Regions from separate parts of the Homo sapiens genome. Here regions 2 and 3 are each linked to region 1. The links are contacts of gene promoters, found by promoter capture Hi-C in blood cells and fetal thymus (Javierre and others, 2016). All regions are on one chromosome and are shown on one strand. Each heading gives the region's core, a stretch centred on a gene start or on the middle of the fragment in contact. The rest is flanking DNA. Distances are from core to core; before and after follow the strand shown.

Region 1 (2,812 bases), core at 143-2,642:
CAAGGTGAAACCCCGGCGCTACTAAAATACAGAAAAACTAGCCGAGCGGCGGGCGCCTGTAGTCCCAGCTACTCGGAAGGCTGAGGCAGGAGAATTGCTTGAACCCAGGAGGCGGAGGTTTCAGTGAGCCGAGATCGCGCCACTGCATTCCAGCCTGGGCGACAGAGCGAGACTCCGTCACCAAAAAAAAAGAGAGAGATAAGCAAATGTTAAAAGCAGGTTACTACAAGATTAGCAGCCTAGTGCCGGGCGCGGTGGCTCACGCCTGTAATCTCAGCACTTTGGGAGGCCGAGTCGGGCGGATCACGAGGTTAGGAGATCGAGACCATCCTGGCTAACACGGTGAAACCCCATCTCTACCAAATATACAAAAAATTAGCTGGGCGTGGTGGCGGGCGCCTGTAGTCCCAGCTACTCGGGATGCTGAGGCAGGAGAATGGCGTGAACCCGGGAGGCGGAGCTTGCAGTGAGCCAAGATCGCGCCACTGCACTCCAGCCTGGGCGACAAAGCGAGACTCTGTCTCAAAAAAAAAAAATTAGCAGCCTGGCGCCTTGGCTCATTACTGTATTCCCAACACTTTGGGAGGCCGCGGCGGTAGAATCACTTGAGCTCAGTAAAACACCTGACTCAACTAAAAAAAAAAAAAAAAAAAAAAAAAAAAGCCCGTCGCGACTGCACGCACCTGTGGTCCTAGCTACTTGGGTGGCTGAAGTAGGGGGATTGTTTGAGCCCGGGAGGTCGAGCCCTGATCATGACACTGCACTCCGGCCAGGGCGACAGAACGAGACCCTGAGAAAAAAGAAAAGAAAGAAAAAAAAAGATTAGCATAGTGACTTTCTCTTTGATGTAACCATAAATATTTAAAGACATCAGTGCCGGGCACATTGGGAACCTCAACAAAGTTGTTTCCGTTATCCATCTCCGACCAGAATTCAGGAAGAACTTTGCCTGTCTTGTTCCCGCTATAACCAATGACTCAACAAATGTTTGTGGAGTGAGTGGGTGACCCTCTCCTTTTACCAACGGTAAACAGCCCGCGGAAAGAAAAAGTGACTTAGCCAAAGTCTCTCCAGGCATTTGGGGCAGAGTCGGGACTAGCATAGTAGTATCCTGACTCTCGCAGGAGGGCTCGCTCCACTGTAGTTATTAATTCTCCTCTCCACACAACCAGGTCTAATCCGGCCAAAGTCTTCAATTCTTAAGCTAAGAAAAAAGGAAAATACATGTAAACTCTGTTTTGCGATAGACAAGAAAACAGAAGAATTAAAAATCCTCCTTCCGGGGTGCACCAGAATCCTCCCATCGCTCGGTCCTGTCACGTGACCACGCCTACTACACCAGCCACGTGAGCTTCTGAGCCGGCTTCCGCGCAGGCGCAGTGGATCTCTCTTGCGCCATTCCAAACATGGCGGCTCCACTAGGGGGTATGTTTTCTGGGCAGCCACCCGGTCCCCCTCAGGCCCCGCCGGGCCTTCCGGGCCAAGCTTCGCTTCTTCAGGCAGCTCCAGGCGCTCCTAGACCTTCCAGCAGTACTTTGGTGGACGAGTTGGAGTCATCTTTCGAGGTAATATAAGACATGGGCGTCTTTGTCCCTAGCCTTCCCTTTTTTCTGAAACGTGAACTGCGCGTACGCGTATCTCCTCCAGGGATCCGAGCAACTAATTCACAAATGGGGAAACTGAGGCTTAAAGTAAGTCACTTGCTTTAGGCTTCCCCGTGGCCCGTATTCAATTCAGGTCTGCTGGCGGGGGCGCGTAAACTCGACGTTTGTGGAAACGTGAACCCGAAGTTTGCCTAAACCCCAAACTTGGAACCCTTCCAGATTCCCAGCCGGTCCTTAGTCTCATCCCCGAGCACCGTTTCTTGCATCCCTGCATGTTTAGTAAGAGGCTCAAGCCTTTTCGGAGCTGAGAGTTTCACTGCTGTATCCTGTATCCTTTCCGCTGGGCTTCACCTTTAAACGATCCTAAAGGGACTCTTAAGAGCGGAAATTGACTTAAGTTACCAGGCGCAGCTTGGTACTAAGAGCTGAGGAAGGAGGAATGCTGGAGGTTAGGGAGGGAGGGAGGCACAGGTGACCCAATCTCTCAGTTTTGCCCAAGGAGTTTACCTTGTAGCAAGAAAGGTGAACTGTATATTGAGGGAAGATAGAGAGGTGAAAATAAGTGCTCTGGTGATTTCCAGTAGTCTTTAAAGTGGAAGATGAGCTATTCCTGTGTAGTAATAAAGTAATGTACGTTCAAATTGGAGTTAACTTTTCCACATTTTAAATCCCAGTTTTGCCGGGCGCGGTGGCTCACGCCTGTAATCCCAGCACTTTGGGAGGCCGAGGCTGGCGGATCATGAGGTCAGGAGTTCGAGACCAGCCTGACCAACATGGTGAAACCCTGACTCTACTAAAAATACAAAAATTAGCCAGGCGTGGTGGCGTGCGCCTGTAATCCCAGGTACTCGAGAGGCTGAGGCAGGAGAATCGCTTGAACCTGGGATGCGGAGGTTGCAGTGAGCGGAGACCGCGCCATTGCACTCCAGCGTGGGTGACAAGAGCTCGACTCCGTCTCAAAAAAGTAAAATAAAATATAAATAAATAAAAATCCCAACTTTGTGACTTTTGTATTGTATCTAATAGCACAGTGGTAAATGAATATAATTTGCAAGCGATTATTCAGACTGCATGGACAAAATGCTTTTACCACACGGATGTACAAAGATTTAGAAATAAATGATTTGAGATGGAGTCTCACTCTCTCGCCCAGGCTGGAGTACAGTGGCGCAATTTCGGCTTACTGCAACCTCCGCCTCCCGGGTTCA
Region 2 (2,812 bases), core at 120-2,619, 4.0 Mb before region 1:
AAGGAAATATCATATACAAGAGACAAAAGAGCGATGAGGACAACAATCTGTGAAATGTGCTTCTGCACAAAGGCATCTGAGTAAAATAAGAGAACGTGAATTTATTTTAAGAAACACACTTAAATCTTGTTTCTTCCTAAAAAAGAAGTGGAGGAGTCAAGGTAGTCAGGATAGTGCTGGAAGATCAAAGTGCTCGTCATTTTTAGCTTCTAAGCCTCAACTGCTCTCTATGGAATGGATGAGGAGCCATCTTTCCTTACACTTTACAAATGCTATTTTTGAGTGCACTTCCATCTGGAGTGCAGGATGGATTAGTTTTTCATTTCTGGAAGCACCTTGTCGCCTTGTGAAACTATAATTCTACTTATGTGGGCCATAGAGAAAAATGAGCCAACTCAGCACAAAGTAGGTTACCTGCTTTTTAAAGATTAAAAAAAAATGCAAATCTTGCAAACACTGTTACATCTTAGAGGTGTATTTAAAATGTAGTAGGTAGAAAAGAAATAAGAAAAAGCAATCTTAAAAAAGGTTTTAGGGTACAAGTAAAAAGGTACAAAAAGGACCGGGCATGGTGGCTCACGCCTGTAATCCCAGCACTCTGGGAGGCCAAGGCGGGCAGATCACAAGGTCAGGAGATCGAGACCATCCTGGCCAACATGGTGAAACCTCATCTCTCCTAAAAATACAAAAATTAGCTGGGTGTGGTGGCACGTGCCTGTAATCCCAGCTACTTGGGAGGCTGAGGCAGGAGAATTGCTGGAATCCAGGAGGCAGAGATTGCAGTGAGCTGAGATGGCACCACTGCACTCCACCCTGGCGACAGAGCGAACTCCGTCTCAAAAAAAAAAAAAAAAATAGAAAATAGAAAAAAAAGTACCAAAAAAAAATTAAACTATCCACTCCCAAATTTTTGCTTCAGTCTCTTTCTCTGTTTGCCTATGTTCCAGCCTCTTGTTTTGCAAACAAACAAAACACTTCTGCTTTAGTCCTTTCTCACACAGAGGTCAGCTCTAATCTTACAGAAAAATGGAGTCCAGTACCAATGATCATACTGCACTTAGCGGCCATAACTGCCTCACCCAAGTGGGGAGAAGCTACAGCCCTAGGTCAACGGCAAAGCCAAAATGCCAACAGCTGGCGTTTTTCTGGTTAAAGTTACTTCCTTGTCTTCCTTTCAAATTATGTTTAGCTAAGTTCGTTATTCAGTTACCTAGGATTTTCAGATTCTGTTGTACAAATAAAAGCTTAAGTAGAATAAAATTTTCCCTCCTACTGAGTCAGCAGATCAGCTATTAAGTTGAACCATCTGAAATTACTGGTATTAGACCATTTTTGTCTTACAAAAATGGCAAGTGCAGATAGCTCAACCTAATGGAGTCAAGTGAGTATGTCTCAAAGCATACGTACAAAAAACTGTTTGAAATTATATTTATTTACAGGGGCTAGTCCACCCCTATACCTTCAGATTGAACATAACTAAATAATCTCTTTAAGGAAGCTTTAAAATGTTATTATCAGTATCATCCAAGAGAAGGCAGCTGTCTTCCCTCTTTCAAAATGTCTCCAGAAAAAGAGATTCCTCATTACTCATAGGCAAATTGCTCCAGCATTTAATCACTGACACAGCCACAAGAACCCCTGACCTCGCACCAAACATGATTTTGTGATCACAATATCTTACTGGTACAGCAATAATTTTAAGTGCTTAATTTTCACATGTGTAAGACTTAGTTCCCTTAAATAAAAGAATGACTGCTCCCTTACCTTATAGATTTTATACGCTATAAAAGTAAATGCAATTCTAAGAAGTTTGCCTTCAATCTGAGTGTCAATATATGAAGAAAAAAAATGCCAGACTCCCAAAAAAACATGCTTTTAAAGCAATGCAATCATTTGTGAACAGGGAGGTGGCTATGCAAATCACTGAATGAAAGTAATCAGTAGGGCTCTGTATAAATGTGTGTGAAGGGGTGCTCTACCCTACCTCCACTCCCTTATCCCCTAGTCCTAAGCTATTTTGGTCATTGTTCTCTTTGAAAGCCTTTGTGGAAACTACAGGCAGCGGGCCTGTCACCCAACAGATCTTTTTTGTTTCTACTTTTTCTAGAAACAGCTTTGACCTTTTCCCACCAGGTATTATTATGCAGCCTTCTAATGGCATCTTTTGATCTCACCTGGACTCTTTTACAGGTTCCTCAGACATCCTTTAAAATGTAGACAACAAAGCTATTGTGAATTTCCCTCTTCTCTTATGCACAAGGAGACACTGTCTGAGCCCCCAGGCTTCTGGTTTCTAGTATTACCTGTGGCTAAATAGGTTTGTCTTTTAGTCAGGGTGTGAATTTTGATTTGTGGGGCTTCCTGTTGGTTGAAACTATCAGACTAGATAGGCTTTCGAGAGGTTCCTATGGGACAAAAGGAAATTAAGAGGTGGCAGGTATAAAACAGATTTGTTTAACTGTTAAAAAAAAAAAAAGCTACACTTCATTCTCAAAGATGTACTTGAACATAAATACTTGTCAAGTCAGGGAGACTGGATGATCTCTAAATAACTTAGTCACCCTTTTTTTGAGGGGTATAGCAAGGGTAGAAGGCTTTCTTGTCTTTGCAAATATTTACATTCAAGAACAAGTAGTGGCCAGGTGAGGTGGCCCATGCCTATAATCCCAGCACTTTCAGAAGCCAAGGAGGGAAGATCCCTTGAGCCTAGGATTTGGAGACCAGTCTGGGCAACATAATGAGACCCTGTCTCTACAAAAAAATACAACGATAAGCTGGGCATGGTGGCAGGTGCTCAGGAGGATGACGTTGG
Region 3 (2,812 bases), core at 141-2,640, 3.1 Mb after region 1:
TCTCCGTATCCGTGGTTGGGTCAAATCTATAGATGTGGAACCCGCATATACGGAGAGCCAACTGTAATTTGTCGTTAAGGTAAAGGATAAAAATTTTAAGTGAAAAAGCAATTGTTTTGGAAGGAAATTCTCTAATACAGGATTTTGAAAGGGGATGTAGACGTGTTTGCATTACTGTATGTTTAATGCTGAAAATTATATATTGTACATAAAAGTTGTCCTGTATACTCATAAACTGTAGAAGCTCGATTTTCTACCATGTTTAAAACTTTTTCAAATGAGTTTTGGTGACTTTTTGAACTCATTCAAAATATAATGCAACACCTCCCCATTAGTTTGTTACAGGAACAACTTTTTGACGTGAAGGAAGATAGAAATTTAGCCATAAAATTCCATCCAAAACTTCCACTGAATTGGTAGGTAGTATTGAAAAATGTGCATCATAATTTGATATGGCTGCCTGTGCCCTTGTTATGTTTGTGGGTACGCGTCTTTGCTGTGCATCGCTTTTATCTGTTGCAGCTGTTAACAATTGATGATCAAGAGAAATTGGACCTCAGCTGGTCTTCAAATTGATGTAGCCCAAGATGTTAAGCCAGATTTTTTAAAAATGACAAAACATGTGGTTTCACTATTAGTAATAGTAATACTGAAGAACACTTTGTACCATTGTAAAGAAAATTATAATAATAGCTAAGACTCATGTGGCCCTTACTGCATGCCTCCCATTATGGAAATGTTGTTTTACATATATTCTTACTAGTCTTCATCAACACTTAAAGTAGTTCCTGTAATTATGCCCAATTATAGAGTTGAGGAAACTGATGCATTTTTTTTTTCAATAGAAACTTGTGTTGTTCCCCCTCCAGGAGCTTCTCAAAACAGAAGTCAGGCACAATATTAAATACTTGTTGAATGATCACAGAAGTACAATAGTAGGTTAACATATTTAAAGCTTCTCTCAGCTTATTTTAGACTATTATCTGACAACTTTAATGAGATTTTAATTACCGTAGTATTAGAAAATGGCCCTGGGAATGGAGGTGAAGTGTGATACTGGGAAGTAAGTCATCTGCTGGTAGTGGGATGAGATAAATGAGATCAATGTACTAAATCAAGGAAATTGAAATTATTCAGTGTGCAGAAGCAAGCTTACATTTAGGTTATCTTTACATGGTATCAGACTTTAAGCTGGTACATCATGTTTGAGATATCTGGCTAAATTTTATAACATGGAGCTTTGTCCTCCTTTTGAGGATTTCTAACTTGTTAAGTGGATTAAAAGCATTTCATGTGAGGAATCATTTTAAAAAGTATCAGTGTTTATCCTGAAGAAGAAAAAATGAAGGAGTTAAGAGTTAATGCCATCAAATATTTGAAAAAGTGTCATTTGGAGGTGGAAGAGGACTTTACCTGTGTTGTCCTAAGGGAAGATCTTACACTATACTTGAGAGGCAGTCATTATTAAAGGCATTAAAATGAGACGTGTGCTAATAGAATAACTAGATTGTCGTGGAAGTGAGGGAACAGAGTAATCAAGTAGAAATAAGGACACAGGATAGAAATCAATGCCATAGAAATACACATTTGAGAAACCAAGATGAGGAAAGGCTTCATGGAAGTTGGGAATGAAGCTTGGCCTAAAAATACCAGTAGGCACTTGGGTATATGAGTGTGTGTGTGTGTGTGTGTGTGTGTGTGTGTGTTTGTGTGTGTGTATTTCTTGCTAGAGATACAATTGTAGAAATTGATTGGATTAGCTGGAAACCTTGGGGTATGAACTAGAGTCCTCCATTAGCAGAAAAAAAGCAACTGTGTAAGGGAAAAGTGAACCAGTATTCCCTGGGTGAGTAACTTGAGAGATAATTTCATTTGCACCTCCAGAAAACCTTGACAGGCTTTTATTTCCCTCTTTAAACAGGTCAGGAAGTCGAGGTTTAGGGAGGTTAAATAATCTGCCTAAATTCATAAATTTCATAATTGGTAGAACTGAGATGCAGACCCATATTTGAGCCCAAAGCTCTTTCTTTCTCATCACGTGTAGCATTGAGTGTAGGAAATGAAGGAAAAGGAGACAATGGTGATTCTAAGTTTTTCAGTCTGAGGACCAGAAAACTGGTGGTACCCTGGGTTAACAAGGGGTTCATAATAACTTCAGTGTGACAACCTCAGTTTTAGTTACATTCAGTTTAAGGAGCTTGTGATACATTGGGTAGGAGAGTTCATTATGTCACTGGAAAAGTAGAGCTTGATGTGCACATGTTAACATTTGGAGCTTTGGAAATACAGAGGCCAGAGAAGATGGAGAAGATGACAGGGAATGTACCAACCACTCCTTTCAGAAATCTAGTCTGTGTTTTCTAATGTGGTCAGAGAATTGGAAGTGAGTTTCTAACAGTTTATTTTGACAATTTGAATGGAAAAAAAGTTGACTTTTGTACATCATTTCTTGGAGATGATTATTTTGCTGTTATTGATACTATTGAAGTTGACATAATTTCATGTTTTCTCATTAGTCTTTTCCAGTATTTTGCTCCATATCAACTTTTTTGTGTGTCTTTTACTGTATTGTATACTCTGTTCTGGTTTTGTCTTTTTATTGATAACAAATGCCCCTCCAAACAAATTTTGAAATCAACTTTTTTTTTTTTAAACTGCAGGAGTGAAAGGGAAGCAATGCAGAAATCAGAGGGCTCTGGAGGTACACAGTTGAAAAACAGAGCAACAGGTACAGAGCTTTTGTTTTTAAGTGAAGAGGTCAAGTTTGTTCATGGCACTTTCTGTGCTACAGATGGATGCAGGGTGAACTTTA

What was found. Contacts are between HindIII fragments. The CHiCAGO score rates a contact against its expected background, and 5 or more counts as called.
Region 2: a fragment that was not itself captured here is called in contact with the fragment with the promoter of MED28 in region 1 in 1 of 17 cell types (non-activated CD4 T cells); the score reaches 5.9 in non-activated CD4 T cells.
Region 3: a fragment that was not itself captured here is called in contact with the fragment with the promoter of MED28 in region 1 in 5 of 17 cell types (total B cells, total CD8 T cells, non-activated CD4 T cells and 2 more); the score reaches 14.7 in total B cells.

What each region holds. Positions count from the first base shown.
Region 1 is chr4:17,613,249-17,616,060 of GRCh38, forward strand. MED28 (mediator complex subunit 28) reads left to right here and starts at 1,393. Exons shown (of 4, transcript NM_025205.5): 1 at 1,393-1,565. The coding sequence starts at 1,407. MED28-DT (MED28 divergent transcript) reads right to left here and starts at 1,332. Exons shown (of 3, transcript NR_186331.1): 1 at 894-1,332; 2 at 684-790. RefSeq lists enhancers at 738-1,937, 1,043-1,332, 1,433-1,542. The HindIII fragment of the contact is 7,436 bases long and covers 1-1,483 here.
Region 2 is chr4:13,616,405-13,619,216 of GRCh38, forward strand. All of the region lies in intron 2 of BOD1L1 (biorientation of chromosomes in cell division 1 like 1), which reads right to left. Among named protein-coding and RNA genes, the nearest start is that of BOD1L1, 9.9 kb to the right of the region's middle. The HindIII fragment of the contact is 254 bases long and covers 1,243-1,496 here.
Region 3 is chr4:20,701,806-20,704,617 of GRCh38, forward strand. It overlaps PACRGL (parkin coregulated like), which reads left to right. Exons shown (of 9, transcript NM_001258345.3): 2 at 2,661-2,728. The coding sequence starts at 2,677. Among named protein-coding and RNA genes, the nearest start is that of PACRGL, 2.8 kb to the left of the region's middle. The HindIII fragment of the contact is 483 bases long and covers 1,150-1,632 here.